Linked DNA regions of Homo sapiens: regions 1 and 2 are each linked to region 3. The links are contacts of gene promoters, found by promoter capture Hi-C in blood cells and fetal thymus (Javierre and others, 2016). All regions are on one chromosome and are shown on one strand. Each heading gives the region's core, a stretch centred on a gene start or on the middle of the fragment in contact. The rest is flanking DNA. Distances are from core to core; before and after follow the strand shown.

Region 1 (2,700 bases), core at 89-2,588, 2.4 Mb before region 3:
CAGCTTAAACCCTGTTTCTCTGTAAGCAAAATACTTGCATTGTCATTATCTGTTTGATTTTTCTGGAAAGAAATGAAATATTAAGACTTTTTACTGAAGTGAAATATTAGGCTAGTGTAGTGGGTAAGCTTGAGTTCTGGGTTTCAATCTGTCATCTGCCACTTATGAGCTATATAAACAATAGCATGTTCCTTAACCTCTCCGAGCCTCAGTTTCCTTACCTTGTAAGGGTGACAATTTACAATAGTGCCTGTCCTCAATGTTTATTTTGATTATATAACTACAGCATGTAGAATACTTAACACAGTAGCCAGCAAAGACATGTCAAAAGACAAAATTACAATAAATTTATAGAATTAATTGTCCTTAATTTGTGATTTATGAATTGAAGCACCTCCTTTCTATACAATAGAATGAAAGCTCCCACTGGGCAATAGCAAAACTGTGGGTTTTGTAAGGTGGGAATAAGAAAACACAACAATAGAAAAATAAATGATTAGTTAACATCAAGTTACTTCAGGTTACTTTTTTGTAAGGATTAAGGCAGAGAGGATTTGCTTATTATGCTGACTCAGGTAGAGAGTGGCATTTAGCATGAGTGACTCCATTTTGATTTGGTCTGGTTTTTAGGGGCCTAGTACAGGAGCTTAGTCTTAAACAATGGCCTCCCATACTTTCGTTTAACATTCGCTAGTCTGTGGCCTGTTTTCAATAGAGAGGATGAATTAAATACTCCAACAATTCTCCTACCAAAAAAAGGAAGGTTTATTATTATTACACTAATATCTCAGTTCTATAGATCTTTCACATTGATTTTCTCAATCACAACTATCCTGCAAATTCAATTCAGCAGGTATAATTTTTGCTGTGTTTCTGAGGACACTGTGTTATGGAGAAGTAAACACTTTTATTCAAGGTCACATGGTCAGCTAGTGGCAGAGGTAGGGTAGAAACAGGATACCTTGACTCCCAATTCTATGCCTTTTCTTCTAGACCACACCTGGTTTTGTACCTTTTTGAAAGGTGCCAAACATATTTTTTTCCCAGTTTGGCTGCTTTTTCCTTCCTCAAGAAGAACACAACTCTGGCAAGCTAGAAAGATTAGGTAATTGTCACCTTTGTGTTTCATGAACATCAAGAGGCCAGGAAATATTTTCCATGTCCGTATGGCGCTCCAGCCAGAGGCTATATAAGTATACGTACACACACACAAACATACTGCACACACATATACATATATATACACATATGTATACATATATTACTACAAAGAAAATATTATATAGATATATAAATATAAAAATAAATAAAAGGGAGATTTAGGTTGTTCCTATTAAAAAAATTTACAGTCATTTGCCTCATAATGATGCTTCAGTCAACAGTGGATCATATATATGATGGTGTTCCCATAAGATTATAATATCATATTTTTACTGTACCTTTTCTATGTTTAGATACACAAATACTTCCCACTGTGTTGCAATTGCCTACAGTATTCAGTACAAGAACATGCCGTACAGGTTTGCAGCCCAGGAGCAATAGGCTATATACCATATAGCCTAGGTGTGTAGTAGGCTATGCCATCCAGGTTTGTGTAAATGCACTCTATGATGTTTTCTTGGCCCCAGAATAAAACCCAAATACTGCTACTTCTTCCTCCCATGCCAGGACAGACATTGCTAATTGGTAATGACTCTATTTTCCACTAAGTCCACAGACAGCTTCAGAATCCTCATGAAATACTGAGCTCCAGGAAGCCACCAGCAATCAATCTGAGTTTGCCCATGAAATAAAACATAACATGCCCTCTCTGGAGTAGAACCATGCATGTGAAAGCTCCTCAAGGTCAGGGACCATTTTCTTACCTATCACTGAAAATGCAGAGACCTTAGCAGAGTGCTGCAAACAGATTAGGCACTGGGGAAGTACTGAATGAAAGAATTCATGAACACACCTCAATCTCCTGACAACATAGGAGAGAGGAGACGACCTGAAGTTGGCCATGTCCTTACTTCTAGTTTTTCCATTCCTTCTCCTTCACTATTAATAACACAGATAAGGCCAGACTCGGTGGCTACACAGATAAGACCGGACTTGGTGGCTACACAGATAAGGCCAGACTCAGTGGCTCATGCCTGTAACCCCAACACTTTGGGAGGCCAAGATGGGCGGATCTCCTGAGGTCAGGAGTTCGAGACCAGCCTGGCCAACATGGTGAAACCTCATCCCTAATAAAAATACAAAAATTAGCTGGGCATAGTGGTGCGCACCTGTAGTCCCAGCTACTCGGGAGGGTGAGGCAGAATTGCTTGAACCTGGGAGGTGGAGGTTGCAGTGAGCTGAGATTGAGCCACTGTACTCCAGCCTGGGTGACGAAGCGAGACTCTGTCACAAAAAAAAAAAAGAAAAAGAGAAAAAACCCATACAGATAATTTAAATCAGCATAGAATACATAGTCATATCCATAAACTGCCAGGATAATTCTTACTTAATATTTTTTTCTAGGGATTCTCTTTTTTGCCACTTTTCATTTTAGAAGGAAGCTTTATATCACAATCACAGAGAGAAAACTAATATTATATGCCATAAACAGAGGAGCCATAAAAAACATAGTAATGAACATAAACACAGGTCTGGGTATTATCTGAAAATCATCCCATGTCCACCACTGATATCCATATGAGAGGCATTTTAGTGTGG
Region 2 (2,700 bases), core at 48-2,547, 2.3 Mb before region 3:
GTCCCACACTGCGGAGATTCTGATTTCATTTTTTGGACTGGGGTACTAGCATTGGTTTTAAGAAATCAGAAGATGATTCTCTTGTGCAGTGGTTACAGAATGTTGCATTAATCAGTGCTCTGTTACTGCTGACAAAAACCCTACTTGAACTAATTTAAGCAAAAAGATGAATTTATATAAAGGATATGGGGTATGGGCTGGGTACGGTGGCTCACACTTATAATCCTAGTGCTTTGGGAGGTTGATGTGAGAGGATCACTTGAGCTCAGGAATTTGAGACCAATGGGGGCAACATAGTGAGACCTTCTCTCTCTTACAATTTAATTAAAAAAAGAAAGGATATGGGATATGTTGATTGAAGGATAAGTTGAATATATAAACCATGAGAAGGTCAGAAAGTGGATGAAGTTTTAAGTTAGTAGCCCTGGAGACCATCTTTCCTGTTAGCTTCATTCTCTTTACAGATGAACTTCTTTAATGATGTAGGTGGAGAACATGGCAGCTGACAGTTCCTAAGGGTTAAGTATTTCTATGTTTACCACTGTCTGGGAGTTCCCTCTCAAATGCAAACTTAAAAAAAATGAGGGGAGGTTAATTAACGAGCTAGACATGAGGAATTAGGGGTTGTATACTTGATTGCAACTGGGCAAATCAACTGGGACTTGGATCCCATAAGAATTTCACAGTCCCCGCTATGTCTATTTATGGAAGAGTCAGTCTGTCTCTCAGAGGAAGGAAGCGGTGCTGAGCTAACGATAACGAGAGATCTACTACAAATCAGGCACATGTGAACTTAATATAAATAACAAACATAAACGGATTGTACAAATTTGTATTCCCTTTATGAGAGTAGTTTTTCCCCAGCTATTCATTTATTCATGATATTCATTTGATGAATACTTACTGTGGTCTGCACTCTGCCTGATACTAGTTTAACTGTTGGATGTGTGGGAAGGGCGAAGGAAAATGTAAGAAAGATAATAAGACGAGTTAATTTTTGAAGGTGATAAGTTTGTGTCTTAACCACTCAGCCATTACAGCACCTTCAGAAGAATCTTGCTTCCAGTTATGTTCCTATTGCCTGTTCAAAGCACCTTGTCCACATTATCTTCCCTTTTCAAGGAATGTGTACATTTTTTTTTGTCTTTTAAAACTTTTTTTTTTTTTTTGAGATGGAGTCTCACTCTGTCACCAGGCTGGAGTGCAGTGGCGCAATCTTGGCTCACTGCAACCTGCAACTCCCTGGTTCAAGTGATTCTCCTGCCTCAGCCTCCCGAGTAGCTGGGACTACAGGCGTGCACCACCATGCCCAGCTAAGTTTTGTATTTTTAGTAGAGAAGAGGTTTCACCATGTTGACCAGGATGGCCTCGATCTCCTGACCTCGTGATCCACCTGCCTTGGCCTCCCAAAGTGCTGGGATTACAGGCGTGAGCCACCATGCCCGGCCTAAAACTTTTTTTTTCTTTTTAAGTAGAGATGAGGTCTCACTATGTTGCCCAGGTTGGTTTCAAACTCCTGAGCTCAAGTAATCCTCCAGCCTCCCGAAGTGCTGGGATTACAGGTGTGAGCCACCATGCCTAACCTCACATTTGTTAAGGAATTTAGAAGGCAACTTTGCTAGGCACGGTGACTCACACTTGTGATCCCATCACTGAGAAACTGAGGCAGGAGTATCACTTGAGTCCACGAGTTCGAGACCAGCCTGGGCAACATAGGGAGACCCCATCTCTACAAAAATATTTAAAAATTCGCTGGATGTGATGGCACATGACGGGTTCCAGCCATTCCAGAGGCTGAAGTAGAAGGGACACTGGAGTCCAGGAGGTCAAGGCTGCAGTGAGCCACAGTCATGCCACTGCACTCCAGCTTGAGTGACAGAGTGAGACCATGTCTCAAAAACATAAAGAAAGGCAGCTTCAACTCATGCACTGAGCCCTGAGGTTACTGGGAACGGCAGGTGCAAATATCTCATGAGGAGATAGAAAGTTGGCATAATTTGGATGAGAAAGGCTACTATGGCTGCAATATGGTGAGGGAGGAGGTTGGAGCTTCAGAAGCAGGTGGAGGACAGATGTGCATGATTTAGAGAACCAAGGGAAGGAATTGGGTTTTTATCTGAAATCTGATGAGAAATTATGTTTGCAATTGATTTCTCATCAGATTTTACTAAAATACAGAGAATCAGTAGGAAGGGTACTAGCTGTACTCTGATAGATTTCTAAGTACTGCAAATGGTGCTAAGTGCTTTGTAGCTGTTCTCTTATTTAATCCTTAGAACAATCCTGTGAAGAACCTTCTAAATCTGATGGTATTTATGGCTGTAAGTTGCTGGCAATGTTTTAATCTCTTTGTATAAATAAAGTCATTTTAGCCTTACAACTACTGAATGAAATCAGTATTCTTTTTACACTCATATTTCAGATGTGGAAGTGGAGGCTCAGAGAAGTTATGTAATTTACCCAAGGTTAACTGACTAGTGGGTGGCAAAGCCAGGATGGAAACTAGGCATTCTAGTTTTCCAAGCCTGAACACTCAACCTTCATACTTCATTGCCTCTCCATTCCCTCATGTTGTTACTAAGTCACGTAGGTAAGTAAGTAGCGAAACCAAGAGTGGAGCCAATATTTTGACCCTAAAATCCATGCTTGCAAATACTACTTGATACTGGGCTGAACAGATTTATAGATGGAAACTATGAG
Region 3 (2,978 bases), core at 457-2,956:
CTCTAACTCCTGGGCTTAAGAAATTCTCCTGCCAGGCCAGGCACGGTGGTGGCTCATGCCTGTAATCCCAGCACTTTGGGAGGCTGAGGTGGGCAGATTATGAGGTCAGGAGTTTAAGACCAGCCTGGCCAATATGGTGAAACCTCATCTCTACTAAAAAAAAAAAATACAAAAATTAGCCGGGCCTGGCAGCGCACACCTGTAGTCCCAGCTACTCGGGAGGCTGAGGCAGAAGAATCGCTTGAACCCAGGAGGCGGAGGTTGCAGTTAGCTGTGATCATGCCATTGCACTCCAGCCTGGGTGACAGAGCAAGACTCCATCTCAAAAAATAAAAAAAAGAAATCCTCCTGCCTCAGCCTTCCAAAGATTGCTGAGATTACAGGCATGAGCCACTGCACCCGGCATTTTTTATTTTGTTTTGTTTTTTAGAGACAGGGTCCCACTCTGTCACTCAGGTTGGAGTGCAGGGCACAATCATAGCTCACTGCAGCCTCCAACTCCTGGGCTCAAGCCATCCTCCCACCTCAGCCTCCCCAGTAGCTGGGATAACAGACATGTGCCAGTAAGCTCTACTAATTTTTTGTATATGTAGTAGAAATGGGGTTTTGCTACATTGCCCAGGCTGGTCTTGAACTCCTGGCCTCAAGTGATCCTCCCGTCTTGGTCTTCCAAAGTGCTGAGATTATACATGTGAGCCGCCGTGCCCAGCCAAGTTTCTGAGTTTTGTTTATTTTAGAAAGGAGTCTTCCTGTGCTGCCCAGGCTGGTCTCAAATACCTGGGCTCAAGTGATCCTCCAACCTCAGCCTCCCAAATAGTTGGGACTACAGGTGAGCACCACCATGCCTAGCCAATCTCCATGTTTGATTGTTAAGTGGAAAAAGCAAGGTGCACAACAAACATACTATGGTGCTGTTGCTAAAGGAGAAGCACAAGGCCTACACATGTTTCTATTTACAGAGGTAAGCTCTGGAAGGATATACAAAAATCTGGTCACAGAGGTTGTCTCTTGGGAGGAAAAAAAGGGGACTGAGGAGAAATTAAAAAAAGACTTTTCATTGTACATTCTTTTGACCCTATTGTATTTTATATCATTTGCACATTTGCTTATTTAAAAAGTTTTCAGAAATTTAAAAGCAGCTCTTTTTCCAAAGTGCTCCTCACTTCATGTCATGGGTCCTGTATCCTAAGTTCCCCTATTTCAATCACAGTGCAAATTTACCCTCCACAGGCATGCCTTTCCTGCATCTAGACTCACTAGAAATAGCTGATGCATCTCTCCTCCCTTGCCTGCCCTCCACAGGAAAAGAAGCAATGAAAAAAAAGAAAATGAGATCCTCTGGTCTCTGTCACCTTTTTATCAACTTGTACTACCTGCCATTATCTGACACCCACATCTTTTCTTGAATCTGCCTCCTCCTATGGGACAGCGACATTTTCTTAAGTTGCAGATGATGGAGAAAATTTTTTAAAAGAAAAAAAGGGGGCAGGGGGAGGGAAGCCCAGAGTTTGGCCAAATGCACGTTTTTCAAGTTCCTGCTTGAGCTTAGATTCCCTTTCCGCTTTAAGGACATGCCCTCTGGAAAGAAGGGTGTTTTGTTTCCAGCCCACACAGACCCAAACTTTTTTCATCACGTGCCTGGTCCGAGCCAGTACGCAGCTCTGTAATGAGATCACCATGGCCAGCCTCCCACCCGAGCAAAAACAAGGTTAGCCTGCAGCAGAGCCGCAGCAGCAACAGCCACCAAAGCGGGGGCTGAAAGGGAAGAGAACTTAGATTTGACCTGTGCAAGGACCTCAGCAGCTTGGACACAGCCCACTGCAGAGGTAAGTGGGAACTACGGGGGAGGGGTGGTGTTTGCAAAGGTCAGGACATGTCCAGGTTCACTTAAAGTAAGGGCAAAACAACACTCTTCCCACCTCTGCCACCACCCTGTCCTCTCTACTTATGGCAGGGTTAGATTTGCCTCTAAACAGGGTTAGATGGCAGGGTTAGAATTTGTCCTAGGACATTGCTGTAGTGCAGTCGCCTCCTTGTCTCTTACTAATGTCTGTATCCTCTGCCTGTGTTTGTACCATCTACCTCCTCAGTAGTCTAATTTTTCTAGCAATTGACAGGTGATTGTAATGGACAAGTAATTGTTTGACTTTAAAACCATTTGTAAAGGAGCAACTCCTAATTCAGAACTCAAATGAGAGGCAGAACAAACTGGAAGAGACTGTTGGGAAGCAACTGCTGCCTAATTGCTTCTCATCTCTACTCTGCCATCACCAGGAAGGTATGGGGCAAAATACAACAGTTTTAAAGTCTCTGGATAGATGTGTGGGCTATGAGCTAGACAAGTAGGTTGAAACTGTTTTGATGCAACATACTTGGATTTACCAACAGTGGCTCCAGTTGTGAAATCGTTAGTGGCTTGATAGTACCTATGGAAACACTCCACGAAGGTTATTGAGTAAAGGGCATACAGTAAAGTGTGTAGGTGGAGATGAACAATAGAACAGTGGCTTTCAGGACCTTCTGGGGCTTAAGGCAAGCAAGACAAGATGCTGATTTGTGGGTTGCTTCAGTTTCATGTGCAATTCCAATTAAATTTCTTTGAGTGGGATATACAGATTCAATTCAATTTGCTAAAACACAGATGCACTGAGCATCAGCTTCTAACTTTAGTTACGAAAGTAATTAGCACAAGGGAATGGTGCTAAAATGTTCCATAGCAAATGTTGAACACTTTTTGAGGGCAAAAAGCAATGCTTTTGATTCGTGTATCTCTTATTTATTCGGCAAATCTTTCTTGAGTATCTTCTACATGCCAGGCTTGGGCTTGATTCTGTGGATCTCGTGGTAAACAAGACAGGCAGATTCTCGGCCTCATGGACATGCAATCAAGCAGAACAGTAAGCTCAAAGGGTGCAAGTACCATGCAGCAAAAGGAGTGAAGAGAGTATTACTAAAACTGGCCCATGGGAATCATTTTT

Evidence for each region. Contacts are between HindIII fragments. The CHiCAGO score rates a contact against its expected background, and 5 or more counts as called.
Region 1: a fragment that was not itself captured here is called in contact with the fragment with the promoter of FAXDC2 in region 3 in 1 of 17 cell types (neutrophils); the score reaches 7.1 in neutrophils.
Region 2: a fragment that was not itself captured here is called in contact with the fragment with the promoter of FAXDC2 in region 3 in 1 of 17 cell types (total CD4 T cells); the score reaches 5.4 in total CD4 T cells.

The regions. Positions count from the first base shown.
Region 1 is chr5:157,276,744-157,279,443 of GRCh38, reverse strand. The region is part of intron 1 of CYFIP2 (cytoplasmic FMR1 interacting protein 2); the gene reads right to left. Among named protein-coding and RNA genes, the nearest start is that of CYFIP2, 12 kb to the right of the region's middle. The HindIII fragment of the contact is 2,415 bases long and covers 131-2,545 here.
Region 2 is chr5:157,132,974-157,135,673 of GRCh38, reverse strand. No RefSeq gene overlaps it. Among named protein-coding and RNA genes, the nearest start is that of MED7, 8.5 kb to the left of the region's middle. The HindIII fragment of the contact is 3,920 bases long and covers 1-2,700 here.
Region 3 is chr5:154,849,331-154,852,308 of GRCh38, reverse strand. FAXDC2 (fatty acid hydroxylase domain containing 2) reads left to right here and starts at 1,706. Exons shown (of 9, transcript NM_032385.5): 1 at 1,706-1,826. The HindIII fragment of the contact is 21,500 bases long and covers 1-2,978 here.